Regions from separate parts of the Homo sapiens genome. Here regions 1, 3 and 4 are each linked to region 2. Evidence: promoter capture Hi-C in 16 types of primary human blood cells and fetal thymus (Javierre and others, 2016). All regions are on one chromosome and are shown on one strand. The core of a region is centred on a gene start or on the middle of the fragment in contact, and the rest is flanking DNA. Distances in the headings are between cores, read along the strand shown.

Region 1 (4,344 bases), core at 1,078-3,577, 210 kb after region 2:
CTCAGCACAGTGCTGGGGCGAGTCCTCTACACTCTGTGGAATTCCCAGTTCACTGGAGGCTCGCTAGCAGGGCAAGTGTGGCCCGAAGGTGCACTGTCCATGTCAGGCAGGCATGCAGGGAAGCCGGGGAGCTGACACCCTGCTGGGGGCAGGGGAGTGGGTGGCCTGGGGTGCCTTGGGTCCCATCAGCAGGGTCATGGGAAACAGCCTCCAGGCTGCACAGTGGTGGACAGCAGTGCTGGCTCCCCCTGTACCTGCCCACCAGCCTTGGCCCTCCTAGGCCCCGAAGGGTCGTTTCCTGCTGTCCAGTGACTGTAGACCAGCCCTGGCCCAGGAAACCCTATAAACTTCTCCTCCAACTATTTCTCCTGGAGAAGACAAGAGTGCCAATGGATTACTACAGTGCAGGGCAATTGAGCAAAGATGGGGATGAACTGGGGTCCCATGGGAGCAGGGAGGAGGGGCCAGGGAACCCTGGCCAGAAATAGGAAAGCAGTAATGGAAGGGACGACTCAGGAGAGGGAGTGCCCATCTCAGAGCCTTTCAGGAACCTGGCATTTAATAAATGCCTCCTCCAGAGGGAAGGATTCAGGCAGATCACTTCTAGAAGGGGTCACCGCCTCTCCAGGTTCTGCATGGTCCACAGCATATGTACAGTCCCCAGAAGCTAGACTCCTTCCAGGCCTGGTGTGGAGGGAACCTAAGTGTGTGATGGAGGAGAGTCTTCCACGGGCTATGAACTCTTTGTAAAAAACAAAACAAAACAAAACAAAAAAACAGCATGCATGCGATGCTGGGGGCTTAGGACAATATCTTAAAACAGAACTGAAACATTGGTGGATAAACCTCAGGACAGGCAGGAAAAGAGCCGTAGCTCATCCACCATCAGCATTAGCAATGTAATCAGACACAACGGAAAATCAATGAAGTAAAACCAACCAGCAGGATTATGTTGTTGAGCCTCCAATAAATGTCTTAAGTGTCCAATAGAGCCATATCGTTTTGATGACATGAATTTCTGTGTTGCTTTTCTGATTGCTCAAAATCCTGAAATTCTTTGGAGAGTATTATCAATGTCATTATCTTTGCCAGGAAGATGCTGAGCTGTCTTCCCTGAAGCAGTGTTCTCCCTGGGTTGTTTGAACCCCTGACTGTCACGTGCCTTCTGTCCTAAGCTGCCACCAAGGCCCAGACAAGCCCTGCCATGCATGTGTCTCTTTATTAATACATAGTACAGCAGGGAGCTGCCCCCTCTCCCAGCCAGGCAGGGCCGCTTATCCCACACCCCCTGCCTTGCAAGCACACTTAGTGTGGAGTATATTAGGAAGTTTAATTAGCAGAAAATAAATAAAGTAGGGATCCCAGCTTGAGCCCAGGCTGTCCCCTGCTGGGGTGGGACATGTCTGAACAGTGTTGATGAGAGTTTTATGAAAGACGCATCTCCTAGAGGAAAGGACATGGAGAGAAGTAAGTTTGATTCCCTCTCGGAGGAGCCTGAGTGCCCAGAAGTCCAAGCAAGAATCTTGAGCTGTATCTGGGAGTGGGGGTGCTTAGATCACGAGCATACTCCTGAACCCTGGCAATGGGGCAGAGCATGGAATGTGCTGACTGGCTTAAGCTTGGAGCAGGACTTGATGTGGCTTCCTCCAAAGGAACCTGAGTTCTGTGGGAGATGGATGAACATCTGAACAACTCAGGGCACTGCTGGGGATATGGAAGCTGGCAGGCAGCCCTTACCATTTGAGGTGCGATAGGGAGAGAGGATAACCAACGTTTAACAAACTCTATCAAATACTGGGTGCGTTGACACGTGCCAGCCCCAGGATGCTCTTAGAAACTCTATGAGGGGAGTGTAATTAGAGCACTGAGGCTCAGAGAGGTTAAGAAACTTGTATATTGTCACACAGCTAGCAAGAGTTTCAGGAAGCTAGATCTAACAGATTCCAAGGCCCATGTAATGTTTCCATCAGGTATTTGTCCAAAAAACACTTTTCCTTCAAGGTAAGGAGTGGGAAGGCTACTCGTATGGGGGCATGGTGTCCCAGCAGCCCACAGCTCAGTGCCAGACTGTGAGTGAGAAGACGAATGTGTGTCCCATCTCTGCCACTTCTGTCTGTGTGGCCTCAAGACCCTCACCTAGAAGGATGGCTGAAGTATCACTCCAGGCCTGGTGTCCTGACTTCTTGAACAACTGTCTAGGGTGTGCAAGCCAGCACATCCCCTTTTCTGCTCCCTAGTTAGATGGATTTAGCTAGGCTATTGCTTTGTGAGAATAGAGGGACCCAAGAGCCTCATTCTCCATCTATATAACTCAAAGACTTTGTATAAGTCAGGGTGAGCTGGTTTTGTCATGAGAAACAACCACCCCAAACTCTCAGTGGCTGCAGACAGCTGGCTTTCTTTCTTTCCCCCGCCACATGCGTGCAGCAGGTCTGCTGGTGGCTGTGCTCTGAGACTCAGGTTGCTCCTGCAGACCCTCTGGAAACATGGCCATTCTCAGCTCTGGAGGGACGAGTCCCTGAGTATCTCACCTGGACAATTAAATGCTCCAGCCTGGAAGAGACACGAGTCACGTCCATCCACCATTCATTGGCTAGAATAAGCCCATGGCTCCTCTCAACCGTGGGGGCAGGGAAGTCTCATCCCACCGGGGCCTGGAAGGCTGAGAACCAAAAGTTGGGCGAACAGTACTCATGGCTATCATAGAGTGGAACCAGTTCCAAGACTCTCAAACCATTTTTTGAGAGCAAGGGGAAGCCTAATCTCATTCTCTATTTTCTATCATCTTTTTTACTTATATAAACCCAAACCTCTCTTTATTAAAACATCTCTCTATATATATGTCTATTTTAAAAAGTCTCTCTCTATATGTCTTTGTGAGAAAAAAAAATGTGTTACGTTCCTTTCAAAACCAACCCTGAGGCTCTGGAAGCACTAATGTTCTCCACCCACAGTTCCCCACCGGCCCCTGATCAGACCTGGTTCTAGGACAGGGGTTCTCACCTTGGCTTCCCTGTAGAATCACCTGGAAGCTTGTAAAAATCCCATGGATGCCAGGTCTCACCCCAGGCCAATTCTGTCAGAACCTCTGAGCTGGTGCCAGGCAGAAGCAATTGGGTGAAACTCCCAGGAGATGCCTGGATGGGTCCAGGTTGAGTCTGCTGTTCCGGGTGAGCCCTGAAGCAGCTTCCAGCTCCGGGGCTGCCTCTTTCTTTCCCAGGTGAGGTTCCAGGAGAAGCCAGAGATGGGGGTTTGCCTTAACAAACCAGGAGCTGAGGAAGGTCGAAGAGAATTCGGTGATTATCCCGACTCATGATTCCAGCTCCTTCCCAGTGGTGGGAGCTGGGAATGCCGTGGGAAGCAGGCGTGGGAGGGGTGCCCAGGGAGACAGGTGCCCGGGTGTGCTGTCACTCAGTTCCAGGCCTGAGCTCAGCTGCTGAGAAAACAGGAAGTGCATCAGGAACTGAGTGTGCTCAAGTCCTGGGTATTCACAATTCACAAGGACACGTGCACACATTCACACACACATTTGCACATCCCCATAAGCATACACACACACACACATACTCAGCTGGGCGTGATGGCTCACACCTCTCATCCCAGAACTTTGGGAGGCCGAGGCAGGTGGATCACCTGAGGTCAGGAGTTTGAGACCAGCCTGGCCAACATAGTGAAACCCCATCTCTATAAAAAAAAAAAAATACAAAAATTAGCCAGCTGTAGTAGCGGGTACCTATAATCCCAGCTACTCAGGAGGCTGAGGCAGGAGAAGTGCTTGAACCTGGGAGGCAGAGGTTGCAGTGAGCCAAGATAGAGCGACTGTGCTCCAGCTTGGGTGACAGAGTGAGACTCTATCTCAAAAAGAAAGGAAGGAAGGAAGGCAATCATTGAGACAATCAGTATTGCCAGGGAAGAAGGCTTTAATTGGGTGCTGCTGCCCAGGAGATGGAGCTCAGTCTCAAATCCATCTTCTGGACCCACTAAAATTAGGGGTTTATATAGCAGGGAAGAAATGTAACAGGAACTCGGGAGGGGTAAGGAAGCAGTCATGATGAATGGAGGGCCTGACGTCTCATTGTCTAGACAAGATGATCTGGTGAGTTTCAGTTCTCTGATACTTTTGGAGAGGACTTGGGCTCCTTTCCTGAGGAAGCAACTCAGATAAAACAAATTTAATTTTCAAGCTTTAAGACCAGAAGGGTCAATTTCTGTATTCATCAAAAACAAACAAACAAACAAAACAACAACAACAACAACTAACTGTCTATGGGACTATTGGTTCGGTTTCATTCTTTTTTTTCAGATTTTCTTCTCCATGAAAAAAATGTTTTTAAAAGAATCTCT
Region 2 (3,927 bases), core at 761-3,260:
CCACCACGCCCAGCTAATTTTGTATTTTTAGTAGAGACGGGGTTTCTCCATGTTGGTCAGGCTGGTCTGGAACTCCCAACCTCAGGTGATCTGCCCGCCTTGGCCTTCCAAATTGTTGGGATTACAGGCGTGAGCCATGGCTCCCGGCCGTTTTCATTTCTTTTAAGTATATACCTAGGAGAGGAATTGCTGGGTCATATGGTCACTCTACATAGAACTTTTTGAGGACTTGCCAAATTGTTTTCCAAAGTGGCTGCGCCATTTTACATGCCCATCAGCAATATATTGTGAACCCTGAAAATTTGAGACAGGTCTCAATTAATTTAGAAAGTTTATTTTGCCAAGGTTGAGGGCATGCCCATGACAGGCCTCAGGAAGTCCTGAGGACATGTACCCAAGGTGATCAAGGCACAGCTTGGTTTTATACATGTTAGGGAGACATGAGACATCAATGAATGTATGTAAGCAGTACATTGGTTTGGTCTGGAGAGGCAGGACAACTTGAAGCAAAGGCAGGAAGACTACTGCAAAGGCAGGAGGCAGGAGGGAGCTTCCAGGTCACAGATAGGTGATAGACAAACGGTTACACTCTTTGGGTTTCTGATTAGTCTTTATAAAGGAGGCAAATCTGTCTCGGTGAAATGCATCTGTCTCAGTGAGCAGAGGGGTGACTTTGAATGGAATGGGAGGCTGGTTGGCTCTAAGCAACTTCCAGCTTTAGTTTTCCTTAGTGATTTTGGGGGCCCAAGATTTCCCTTTCACAGTATGACGGTTCCAATTTCTTCACATCCTCATATCATATTCTATTTTATGAGTTATCTCTAGATGGGTATTATTATTCCTCTTGGGTTTAGCTCCCTGAGGACACAAACTGTCCTAAGACTATGATAATAGTAATCATAGAACCGTGCACATGGCAAGTTCTGAATAAATCTCAGCTGTTGGATATACTTTTTGTTATAATTACTAACACTTCCTAACTAGAGAGTAAGCCTACTCTAAGAAAAAATATAACTGTAATTTCACAACCTCCAAAGAACCCAGTGCATAAACAGCTACCATTTATTAAGCACTGACTGAATTCTTAGTAATATGTCTTCATTTTTTTCAGATGAGGAAACTAAGATTCAGCTTATTTGTACAAGTAGTTAAAAAGCAAAGCTGAAATTCAGACCCAAGTTCTCACTGTATCATACTGTCCAAAAAAGAATTCTATTTTTCAGGAAGAGACATGTCTGCTCACTTGAGGTCCTCTTATTTTTCCGCTATTCCCCAAAGGAAAGGGGTGATCTCTTAATTCTTTCGTTATGTCCTATTGTACATAGCATATAATGGTAATTCAGAAAAATTACTTCTAATTACATAAATTTTCACAATGGTATAGTGACTAATACGCTGAAATAGAAAAGTAAGGCATTGTTATCATGGTCTAGTTCAGTCTTTATTGCGACTATATCTGATAATATACGGTAAGCATCTAACCACTTGCCAGGGGCCACAGAGCCACAGGGAGACTATGTCTCGCTTAAATTCCCAAAAGTGGGCCCCTGTGCTTCAAAACGTCCCCGCATGGGAACCACAAAAACGTTGCCTCCCCAGTTATCACCCCAAGGGCCCAAGAGCCGAGGACTCTGCCCGGCGTCCTTCAGCTGGCACCAGCTGTCAGAAAAGCGGAACTGGGGACGAGGACTTTGCCCCTAACCAACATGGCCGCCCTGAGGCTTCGGGCTTCGGGCGGCAGAAGGAAGGTCACGTGAAGAGAATTCCGTTCCTTTATTGGCCCCGTCTCCTGGAAGGGCGGGGTACAATAACCCAACCGGCGCCGGCCTTAAAGGGGCCACCGTTGGATCTGCCGGTGGCCGGCCCTAGGGGCTGGGGGGGCGGTCGCCGCGCCGGGCTTCTGCCCCTCCCGCGCGGAACGGTGACGGGCGGGGCTGGCGCTGGGAGGCCGTGTCGCTGGGAGACTGCTGACAGCCCGCCGCCTGCCGCCGCGCGATTCCGAGGGGGTTAACGGCGGAGCCGCCGGCCGGGCGCGGACCGGAGCGCGTGAGGCTCCGGCGCGCAAGCCCGGAGCAGCCCGCTGGGGCGCACAGGGTCGCGCGGGCGCGGGGATGGAGGACGGCGTGGCCGGTCCCCAGCTCGGGGCCGCGGCGGAGGCGGCGGAGGCGGCCGAGGCGCGAGCGCGGCCCGGGGTGACGCTGCGGCCCTTCGCGCCCCTCTCGGGGGCGGCCGAGGCGGACGAGGGCGGCGGCGACTGGAGCTTCATTGACTGCGAGATGGAGGAGGTGGACCTGCAGGACCTGCCCAGCGCCACCATCGCCTGTCACCTGGACCCGCGCGTGTTCGTGGACGGCCTGTGCCGGGTGAGGACCGCGCCGGGCGGGCCGTCGGGGCGGAGGGCGGACACTTGTTGCCCGAGGAGGCGGCGCGGGTCGCAGCGCCCAGTCCCGGCCGCGCGCGGGGCGGGGAGGCAGCGACGTCCCCCGGGCTGCTCGGCCGCGGACCCGTCAGGGCTGGGGCGTGGGGACGGCGCCCCGAGGGTCCCGGTCCCCTAGCACCCCCGGGGCGCGCGGAGCTCACTGCAGAGTCCCACAGGCTCGCCCCGGCCCCCGTGTGCGCCCAGGCTGGTGCGACTAGGGGGGTGAATTCGCTCCCCAAGGTGGGGCAGCGCCGCCGCCCCCTGCGCTCTCGCCATCGCCCCGCATTTACTCGCTGGAGGAGGGGGTCACCTCATTCCTAGGGAGGAGGAAACAGACATTGAGCGGCGACGTGACTCAGTGTTCATAAATAGGACGACGTCCCTGCATTCCCAATCTGCACTATTGGAAGAAAAGCCAATGTTTGGGTGAGGATCCGTGGTTGCTCATTAGCCAGCGGCTGGCCAGTTTTGGTGGAATTGTGTTGGGGGGAAGGGGACCATCTTTCAGACCTTTAGGATATTTAGTCAAGAACCTTGCCCCCTTGTGTGAAGGTGTGGCTTGCCGCCATCGGGGACACCCAGTACATGGGGAGTCGACTCCTTCCCCCGCCTCCCCCCACCCCCGCAAAATCCACACAATTTAGACACTTTGGAGGGTGAGGGGCAGGTATGAGTAATCAATAATGGTGGTGGGGAGGAAGAATTTATTTCAAATCTGCAGTTATTGTGCAGAATAAAATGTGGACAACGTGGGCGTCACAGAATGAAACCGGTCTTTGAGAGATGCCCCATTAGGAGAGCAGCTGTCAAAAAAAGCAGTGCTTTCAGCGCTTGGCTGTGGGTCCACAAATGCTGTCAATGAACTATAGTTGAAGGCTGCTGCCAATACAACACCACTGTGAAACAGAATGGTGTATGTAAGTGTCATTTATTTATAATTTATATGTTCACTTACTTTCTGAAAGGAATTACAATGGCCGTGTGCTTAGGTAAGCTTCCAGGCATGCTTTCTAGAGCAGCAATTGTCAGGAACTCAGGGTCTTACTGATTGATCTTACTCTAAAACCTTTTCCTCTCCATATAAACTAAGCGCTAGCCAGCATTTCAGACCTTTTCCTTAGGAGTTCTAGGCTGTCTTTCTGCTAGAACAAGGTCAAGTCACGTAAGACGGCACTTACTTGTAGTGTTGGAGACAATTTTTTCCAGTGTTGGATACAATCCTGAAATTGTGTTGTATGAAAGTTTGCCCACTTCGCTAGCTATTCATTTTAACAAATATTTATTGAGACTTCGCTACGGGATAGGTACTGTCCTAGGCTCTGAGGCTGCATCAGTAAATAAAATAGCATTTCTGCCTCCAGGGTTGACATTTTTTGGAAGGGAAACAAGCAATAAAGAAATATCAAATGTATCAGAAAGTAATGATGCTATAGGAAAAAATAAGACTTGGAGGGCAGGAGGAGGGAGTGGAGATCTGGGAGTGGAGGGGAGATTGCTATTTTCCATAA
Region 3 (3,974 bases), core at 1,436-3,935, 180 kb after region 2:
GTTCAAGACCAGCCTGGCCAACGTGGCAAAATCCTGATTCTACTAAAAATACAAAAATTAGCTGGGCATGGTGGCGCATGCCTGTAGTCCCAGCTACTCAGTAGGCTGAGACACAGGAATCACTTGAACCCTGGAGGTGGAGGTTGCAGTGAGCCGAGTTAGTGCCACTGCACTTTAGCCTGGGCAACAGAGTGAGACTCTGTCACAAAAACAAACAAACAACAACAACAACAAAAAACAAGCGAGAATATTATTGACTGGCTTATTCCACTTCAGAGCTGTGGATGGCAGAGCCCATCCCAGAGGCACAGGGTCAAGGCAGACACCAACCCTGGACAGGGTCCTCTTCCATCATAGGGCACACTCACCCACTTCCACACTCGCTCACACTGGGACCATGTAGACATGCCAGTTCACCTACCGTGCATAGCTTTGGGATGTGGGAGGAAACTGGAGGACCCAGAGGAAACCCACACAGACATGGGGAGAACGCACACCCTCCACAGAGACAGTGGCCTGGCTAGGAATTGACTTTTTTTTCTCATCAACTTTATAGCAAAATGATGTTGAATGAGATAGTGTCATCCAAGGACCTGCTGTATAATGACATGTATCCACCATCGTAGTAATATACAGAGCATTTTCGCTGCCCTTAAAGTCCTCTATGCTCTACCTGGTTATCTTCCCCCCACCCGTCTCAACTGCTGGCAACCACTGATGTTTTCACCATAGTTTTGCCTTTTTCAGAATGTCACATAGTTAGAGTCATACAGTATGTAGCTTTTCATAAGGGCTTCTTTCACTCAGTCATATGCATTTCAGTTTCCTCCATGTCTTTTCATGTCTTGATAGCTCATTTCTTTTTAGCACTGAATAATATTCTACTGTGTGGATACACCACAGTTTATTTATCCATTCACCTACTGATGGACATCTTGTTTGCTTCCAAGTTTGGGCAATAATAAATAAAGCTTGCTATGAGCATCTGTGTGCAAGTTTTTGTGTGGTTACAAGTTTTCAACTCCTTTGGGTAGATACCTAGGAATACAGTTTCTGGATCGTATGGTAAGAGTACACGCCGTTTTGTAAAGAGCTGCCAAACTGTGTTCCAAACTGGCTGCACTATTTTGCATTACCATCAGCAATGAATGCGGATAAAAAACGCCACATCCTTACCAGCATTTGGTGTTGTCAGTGTTCTGGGTTTTGGCCATTCCAATAGGTGTGTAGCCCACTGTATTCATCAGGGTTCTCTAGAGGGACAGAACTAATGGAATGAATATATGTATATGTATATATATAGTATATGTATATATATGTGTATATATGTATTTATGTATATGTGTATATATGTATATATGTATACGTGTATATATGTATATATGTATATGTGTATATATATGTGTATATATGTATATGTGTATATATATGTATGTGTATATATGTATATATGTATATACATATATTCCAGTATATGTGTGTATACACACACACACACACACACATATATATACACACACACACACATAATATAAACAGGAGTTTATTAAGTATTAACTCACACAATCATAAGGTCCCACAATAGGCTGTCTGCAAGCTGAGAAGCCAGAAGAACCTCCTGAGTAGCTGGGATTACTGGCATGCACCACCATGCCCCACCATGCCCAGCTAATTTTTGTATTTTTGGTAGAGACGGGGTTTTGCCATGTTGGCCAGACTGATCTTGAACTCCTGACCTCAAGTGATCCCCCAGCCTCGAGCCACCATGCCCAGCCAGCTGGTCTGTTTCTTAATGTTAAAGTCTTTGACTATTAAAAAATTGGACAGCTTATTGTATGTGTTACAAATGTTTCCCCCATTATCATTGATCTCTTGACTTTTTGATAGCATTTTTTGCCATAAAGAAATGTCTAACTTTGTGTAGTTGGATTTATCAGTCTTTTTTTAATGATTTCTGACTTTTGTGCCACACTTGGAAAGATTGCCACCGTCTGGGATTATAAAAATAAATCTCTCATGTTTGCTCTAGTTCTTTCATGGCTTTATTTAAACATATATAGATATATAAAATCTTAGCCCCATCTGGAATGTATTTTGGTGTGTGTAGAGCTCCAGTTTTACTCTTTCCCAGTCTACTCAATCGTCCCATTCATTTCTGAGATAACTAATCTTTTCTCCATTGATTTGAAATGTCCCCTTTATTTTATACTGTTTTCCTGAATGTTTTCAGTCTATTTCTGGATTTTATTCTGTTCCACTGATCTATCTGCCTGTTTATTTATTTATTTGTTTGTTTGTTTATTTTAATTTTGAGATAGAGTCTTGCTCTGTCGCCCAGGATGGAGTGCAGTGGTGCAATCTCGGCTTACTGCAACCTCTGCTTCCCAGGGTCCAGCAATTCTCCTGCCTCGGCCTGCCAAGTAGCTGGGACTACAGGTGCGTGCCACCATGCCTGGCTAATTTTTGTATTTTTAGTACAGACGAGGTTTCACCATGTTGGCCAGGCTGGTCTCGAACTCCTGACCTCGGGTGATCCACCAGCCTCGGCCTCACAAAGTGCTGGGATTACAGGCATGAGTCACCATGCCCAGCCCCTTGTCTGCTTGTTTATATGCTAGGATCAAACACTTTTAATTTCTGTGGCTTTCCAAAATGTTTTAACATCTTTTGGTGATATTTTCTTTCATTACTTTTTCCCTGGAATTTCCTTGGCTATTTTTGCATATTCGATTTTCCATAAAAATATTAGCATCAACTTGTCTCTGTTAATTTCGATGAGGCAAAACCCTCAAGCTCTTTGTTTAAATAAGAAATCTAACATATTTGTTTATCCCCTGCCTCCTGTGAGAGAAGAGAGAAACCAAAGAAAGTTCGCAAAGGCTTATACCTTTGAGGAAACAGAGGTATCAATTTAAATATCTCTGCCAGAGCCAATCAGTCTGAATTTTAGCCTTTGGGGAAGTTAGGGTTGCTTTTCTTGGGCAGAGCATCAGCCTCTGAAATCCAGGGGATTTACTTCCTCCTTTGTTAAAATGACATAGGCAAGGATAGGTGTTTGTTTGTTTGTTTGTTTTGAGATAGAGTCTCACTCTTTTCACCCAGGCTGGAGTGCAGTGGCACTATCTCAGCTCACTGCAACCTCCACGTCCCAGGTTCAAGCAATTCTCCTGCCTCAGCCTCCCAAGTAGGTGGGATTACAGGTGTGCGCCACCACCCAACTAATTTTTGTATTTTTAGTAGAGACGGGGTTTCACCTTGTTGGCCAGGCTGGCCTCGAACTCCTGACCTCAGGTGACCTGCCTGCCTTGGCCTCCCAAGTTGCTGAGATTACAGACGTGAGCCACTGCGCCTAGCCAAGAATAGGCGTTTATCACGCAGGATGCTATCTGCCACTCTCTGCAGCTGCAGGAAAAAAAAAGAACATTTTTTTCCTTTTAATTTTGCTGCAACTTTGCTGTGATTTTTCAAGCCTTAAAGCTGGAACTTTATTCATTGGTGCCGAGAGAAAGAAAGGCAGGTCTGAAAAGCACAAAATATGTCATTAGAAAGGAAAAGGGAAGAAGAAAATCACTAAATGGAATATTTGGCATTCAGTGTAGTCTGGAAAACAAAACAAAAACAGCACAACAACAACAAAACAAGGGAAATTTCCATTGGAATTATACTAAATTTATAGATTAATTCAGGAAGGATTGTCATCTTTATGCAGATGAGTCTTTCTACCCAAGACTAGGAAATATACTTGCATGTAGTCAAATCTTCCGTTTTGTCCCTCTGTTGTTTAGATTTTCTTTGTGTAAATTTTGTGCAACTCTTGGGTGTTCTATCTTTGGGGTTTCCTATTGTAAATGGAATCTTCTATTCAATTATATCTCAAAGATATTGTTGTTAATATAGATTCTTGGATATTGTTTTGTAAAAACATTTATTTTGTGCCCCCTGAGCTTCCTGAATTATCCTGCTCTTTCTAATGG
Region 4 (4,287 bases), core at 1,056-3,555, 220 kb after region 2:
CATTCACTCATCAAATACTGGAGCACCTTCTGTGTGCCTGGCTGGGTGCGTCAGGGCCAGGAGTACCAAGGAAAACAAGCCTGGACCCTCAAGGTCCAGGTCTGGTGTGGAGGTGGGGGCCACCTCCCACTCAGTGAGATGTTGGAGGTTTGCGTAGTGAGAGCTGAGTCCAGGGCCTGGCGCTGAAGAGCTGTGGGCAGGGTTGCAGGAAGAGGTGAAACTGAAGTGGAGGACAGAAAGAAGAATGGGGATTTCACCACAGAGAGAAAAGGAGGAAAAGAGGAAGGCCCACCCAGGCAGAAGCGCAAGTGGACCAAGCCTACCGCTGACCCAGCATTAAACAAAAATTATGGGAGGCTATTGTTTTGGACTGAGATCCTGCACTAGGCCCCAACAGACCAGATCAAACCAAACCAAAATGGAGTCAGTCATGCTAAGAGCCATATAATCAACCCAAAACTTTAATAAGGAAGCAGGTAGGTCCCCAAACAGATTAGTTTTTCCTGAAAACAGGAGCTTCTGGTCTACCTGAGTCAGCGTGATTAGGAGGTCCTGAAGTAACCTGATGTTAACCCATCAGCTTCTTTTCTATTGTTCTGTTTCCTTGTCCCCACCTTACAAAGCCCACTGTTCTGCAATTGTCCGGTGGGAGCTCTTGCTCTGTTTTATAGAAGGGAGGCTGCCCCATTCATGAATCAAGAATAAAAGACAATGAGGTCTATGACTAAACGTGTTGCAGTTTTGTCTTTTGACATTGGGCACAGGGTGCGTCTGTGAGTGATGTGTGTGTGTGCGGTGTGTGTGTGTGTGTGTGTGTCCGTGAAAGCCATCTGGGTGGGAAATGCAAGCAGAATGAACAGAAGAATGGAAGTGTAGATAGGAACAGGATGGAAAAAGATACAACAAGCAATGCTGGCCTCTGTCACCATCGTGTCACTGATGCTGACGTCTTGAAGATTTTATGTCCCAGACTTCGAAGTACAAAAACTCGCTTTACTTTACTTGGCTCAGACTCGACCGCACAGCTGTGAAAAGTCCAGTCTCACAGTGAGACCATGAGGGCTGGTTCCTGTCTCTGCCTCCCACCAGCTGGGGGACCTTAGGCAGGGCCTCTCTGCCTCAGTTTCCTTATCTGCGAAAAGGGGATAATGATACCGTTACCCTCTGTGGAGGCAGCTGTGAGCTCTTGGGGAGTAAGGGCTGAAGGATTTGCTGCCTCGCGTGCGCTGTCTCCTGCCCCTCCTCCCACCTTTCCCGATGGCTCCTTCCCAGGTTGGGCTCCTGCTGCCTCTCCCTCTGCCCATCTTCTACAGTGTAGGTCTCAAAAGGAGGGTCAAGAATTGCCTGGGGATGTTCGTATCACAAATTCCTGGTCCTTCTCCTGCAGGTTCTGATGCAGTGGACCTGGAATCCAGCCCAGGAGTCTGCATTTTATTTTTATTTTTATTTTTTAGGTTGGTTTTTTTTTTTTTTTTGACACAGAGTCTCACTCTTTTACCCAGGCTGGAGTGCAGTGGTGCGATGTCTGCTCACTGCAACCTCCACCTCCCGGGTTCAAGCAATTCTCCTGCCTCAGCCTCCGGAGGAGCTGGGATTACAGGCATGCACCACCACGCCCAGCTAATTTTTGGTTTTCTTTTAGTAGAGACAGGGTTTCACCATGTTGGCCAGGCTGGTCTCAAACTCCTGACCTCAGGTGATCCTCCTGTCTCGGCCTCCACTAGGATTACAGGCATGAGCCACTGCACCAGGCCAGAGTGTGCATTTTAAATGGCCTCTCCTGCTTGCTCATGTTTGAGAACTCATCCTCCTTTCTCTTCTCCTTCTAGACTCTCCACCGTCCATCCTCTGGCTTCACTCTGACACAGATGAGATCTGCATGGGGGAGCTCCCTCATGGTGTGATGGTGCGTGTGTTTCCGGCAGTGGGTCAGGAGCTCTCCAACGTCAGGCCTGGGTCCCTGCCATCTCTGCCTGTGGGGCCTGGCACAGAGCAGGGCACTAAGCAAAGCCCCAGGAACATTTGTGTAATCAACTCGGGGTGAGGTGGAGAACTCTAAAGATCCAGGCATCTGGAAGTCTTCGGGAATGAGACATTGACAGCTACGTTTCCCTATAGACAGAATTTGAAGAAAGCTTGGGCAGAGGCAACGCTTTTGAAAGAATCCCAGACTCTTTGTTTGAATTATTTGGTTTCTGAGATTCCTCACGTATGTCTGTGTTATGTATGTGCTTGTTAAACAGACTGTGTGAAACGGCTGAACCTCTTCTTCACGCCTGAGGTCATCACCATGAACATAACATCATCACGTGTGGCATCCCATGTGGGACGCTGTGGCTGCCGCAGTGTCTGGCGCATGAAGAGCACACGGTGAGTTCTCAAGTCTGCTTCTCAAAGACCGTCCCTCTTGCTCAAAGGTATTTCTGCTGCTGACAGCCTTTCTTCCTTTCTGTTTCTAATATGTTGTAAGCTTGAAAACCAAACAAATGTGTTGCGAATGTGTGAATGTGTGTAATAGATCAAGCAGGATGTGCATGAGGGACTCTGGGGCTCTCCGTGGGTGGAGAATGTGGATGTCGGCTTCTGGCCTTCACAACGCATTTCAGGTCCTTTGTGTTTGTTCTCGGTCATGGTCCAGCGGGTTGAGGGATTGCTTTGGTCCAGGTGGGGTCCTGCTAGTGGGCTTTACCAGTCTCTACAACCAGCGGTGCATGCATCCACCCAATAATTTAACATCAAACTACACATCTACCAACTTCATGTACCTAAGGAGTGGAATGATAGCAAGAACTCCGCCTTGAAAACCCCTAACCTCTGAGCCTTCAGAGAGACCGATTTGAATAAGAACGCCATCTCCTGCGCGGCCTGCCTTACTGCAATTAAACTCTTTCTTTATTGAAACAAACAAACAAACAAACAAAAAAACCCAAAACATAAAAAACGAACAAAATCCCTTCAATTAGTGATTAATCATCTCCCCCTAGTGGTAGAAGGGTGCATAGGAAAAGTAACCAAGCAAAAACAAAACTCCCAAATGCTCTTCAGAAAAAACCTACACCCAGCCTGGGCAGTACAGCGTGACCCTTGTCTCTAAACAAAAGATAAATAAATTAGCAGGGCCTAGTCCCAGCTACTCGGGAGGCTGAGGTGGGAAGATCGCTTGAGCCCAGGAGTTCAAGGCTGCAATAAGCTATGATTGTACCATTGCACTCCAACCTGAGGGACACAGCACGTCCTCATCTCTAAAAAAACAAAAGCAAAAACAAAAAACAGAAAAGCCACGGGCACTGTTGGGATGATCAGTGGTTTAGTCCAGTCCTTATGTCACCTTCTACCTAATTTTCCAAGATGGCCAGATCTTCCACAAATTCCAAAGTGTAGCTTTAAATCCCAAAGCCTAGAAAAGCGCTTGTGTTTAGCACATGAGTGTCTACTGGTCAGCAGATCCCCCGCCTTGGACTTATGAGGCACACAGGCGGGTGGGCATGAGGGAGGAAGTGGTGCCAAGGTAGCAGGTCTGATGCCAGGCAAGGCAGGAGCAGGTGATACCCTACACCTGCAGGGTGGGCAGCAGAGAGGCCAGGCCCCTGGGGCAGGAACATGGGCCAGGGTGGGTGGGGTAACCTGCCAGGGTGCAAGGAGGCCCTGACAAAGGGAGGATGGTAGGCCACGGCCCAGGGTCAGTTCTAGGCCCCATCTGAGCATGTCACGAAAGCGTGGGGATGGCAGAAATCCAAGGGCATCCCACCTCTGCTGTGGTCTTCCATTCACGTTCTAACAGGACCCCAGGCCGCAGCAGGATTAGGCAGAATAAAGTCACCAGGGCTCCTGGCAAAGGCTGGAGCGGCCTCCTTCAGAGAGAATGAGGTCTGGGCTTACGTGAAAGTCCACTTTGACTATGGTGAGCACTGCAGCTTGTAGGAGCAGGGTCTGTCTGTCCTCAGAACTTTGTAAATTCTTTCCTGCTTCCTAAATTGTCCTGAAGAGCATCCAGCAAGCACAGTGCAATTTAAGATGGAACTCCCCTGACTCCCCACATGGAAAACGCATGTTCGACACAAACTGGGCCAGGACGGGGAGACGTTTACTAACACACACTCCTGCAAGTTTCCCATGCAGCCATCAGCAACCAGACCAAACACTCCGCACTGCTTCCAGTGCCAGCTGCTGCCACCTCACTCCCCATCCACTCTGGGGTCTTGCGAAGAAGTGGGAGAGCATGAGCTCTTGTCACAGGGATCTGCGTGTGTTAGGTGCTGAGTAAAACATCTTCCCATCCTCCCTGCC

The links. The method cuts DNA at HindIII sites, captures the fragments that hold promoters and counts their contacts. A CHiCAGO score of 5 or more calls a contact.
Region 1: a fragment that was not itself captured here is called in contact with the fragment with the promoter of RCAN1 in region 2 in 4 of 17 cell types (M2 macrophages, M1 macrophages, megakaryocytes and 1 more); the score reaches 6.6 in M2 macrophages.
Region 3: a contact is called between a fragment that was not itself captured here and the fragment with the promoter of RCAN1 in region 2, in 5 of 17 cell types (megakaryocytes, endothelial precursors, monocytes and 2 more). The highest score is 8.3, in megakaryocytes.
Region 4: a fragment that was not itself captured here is called in contact with the fragment with the promoter of RCAN1 in region 2 in 11 of 17 cell types (M2 macrophages, megakaryocytes, M1 macrophages and 8 more); the score reaches 13.2 in M2 macrophages.

The regions. Positions count from the first base shown.
Region 1 is chr21:34,406,608-34,410,951 of GRCh38, reverse strand. LOC105372793 (salivary glue protein Sgs-3) reads right to left here. Exons shown (of 6, transcript XR_001755015.2): 2 at 3,004-3,272; 3 at 2,532-2,662. Among named protein-coding and RNA genes, the nearest start is that of C21orf140, 7.7 kb to the right of the region's middle. The HindIII fragment of the contact is 1,414 bases long and covers 1,621-3,034 here.
Region 2 is chr21:34,613,196-34,617,122 of GRCh38, reverse strand. It overlaps RCAN1 (regulator of calcineurin 1), which reads left to right and starts at 2,010. Exons shown (of 4, transcript NM_004414.7): 1 at 2,010-2,363. The coding sequence starts at 2,112. RefSeq lists silencers at 1,776-2,205, 2,396-2,495. The HindIII fragment of the contact is 8,899 bases long and covers 1-3,415 here.
Region 3 is chr21:34,436,985-34,440,958 of GRCh38, reverse strand. No RefSeq gene overlaps it. Among named protein-coding and RNA genes, the nearest start is that of SMIM34, 15 kb to the right of the region's middle. The HindIII fragment of the contact is 3,424 bases long and covers 974-3,974 here.
Region 4 is chr21:34,389,669-34,393,955 of GRCh38, reverse strand. No RefSeq gene overlaps it. Among named protein-coding and RNA genes, the nearest start is that of C21orf140, 9.3 kb to the left of the region's middle. The HindIII fragment of the contact is 335 bases long and covers 2,138-2,472 here.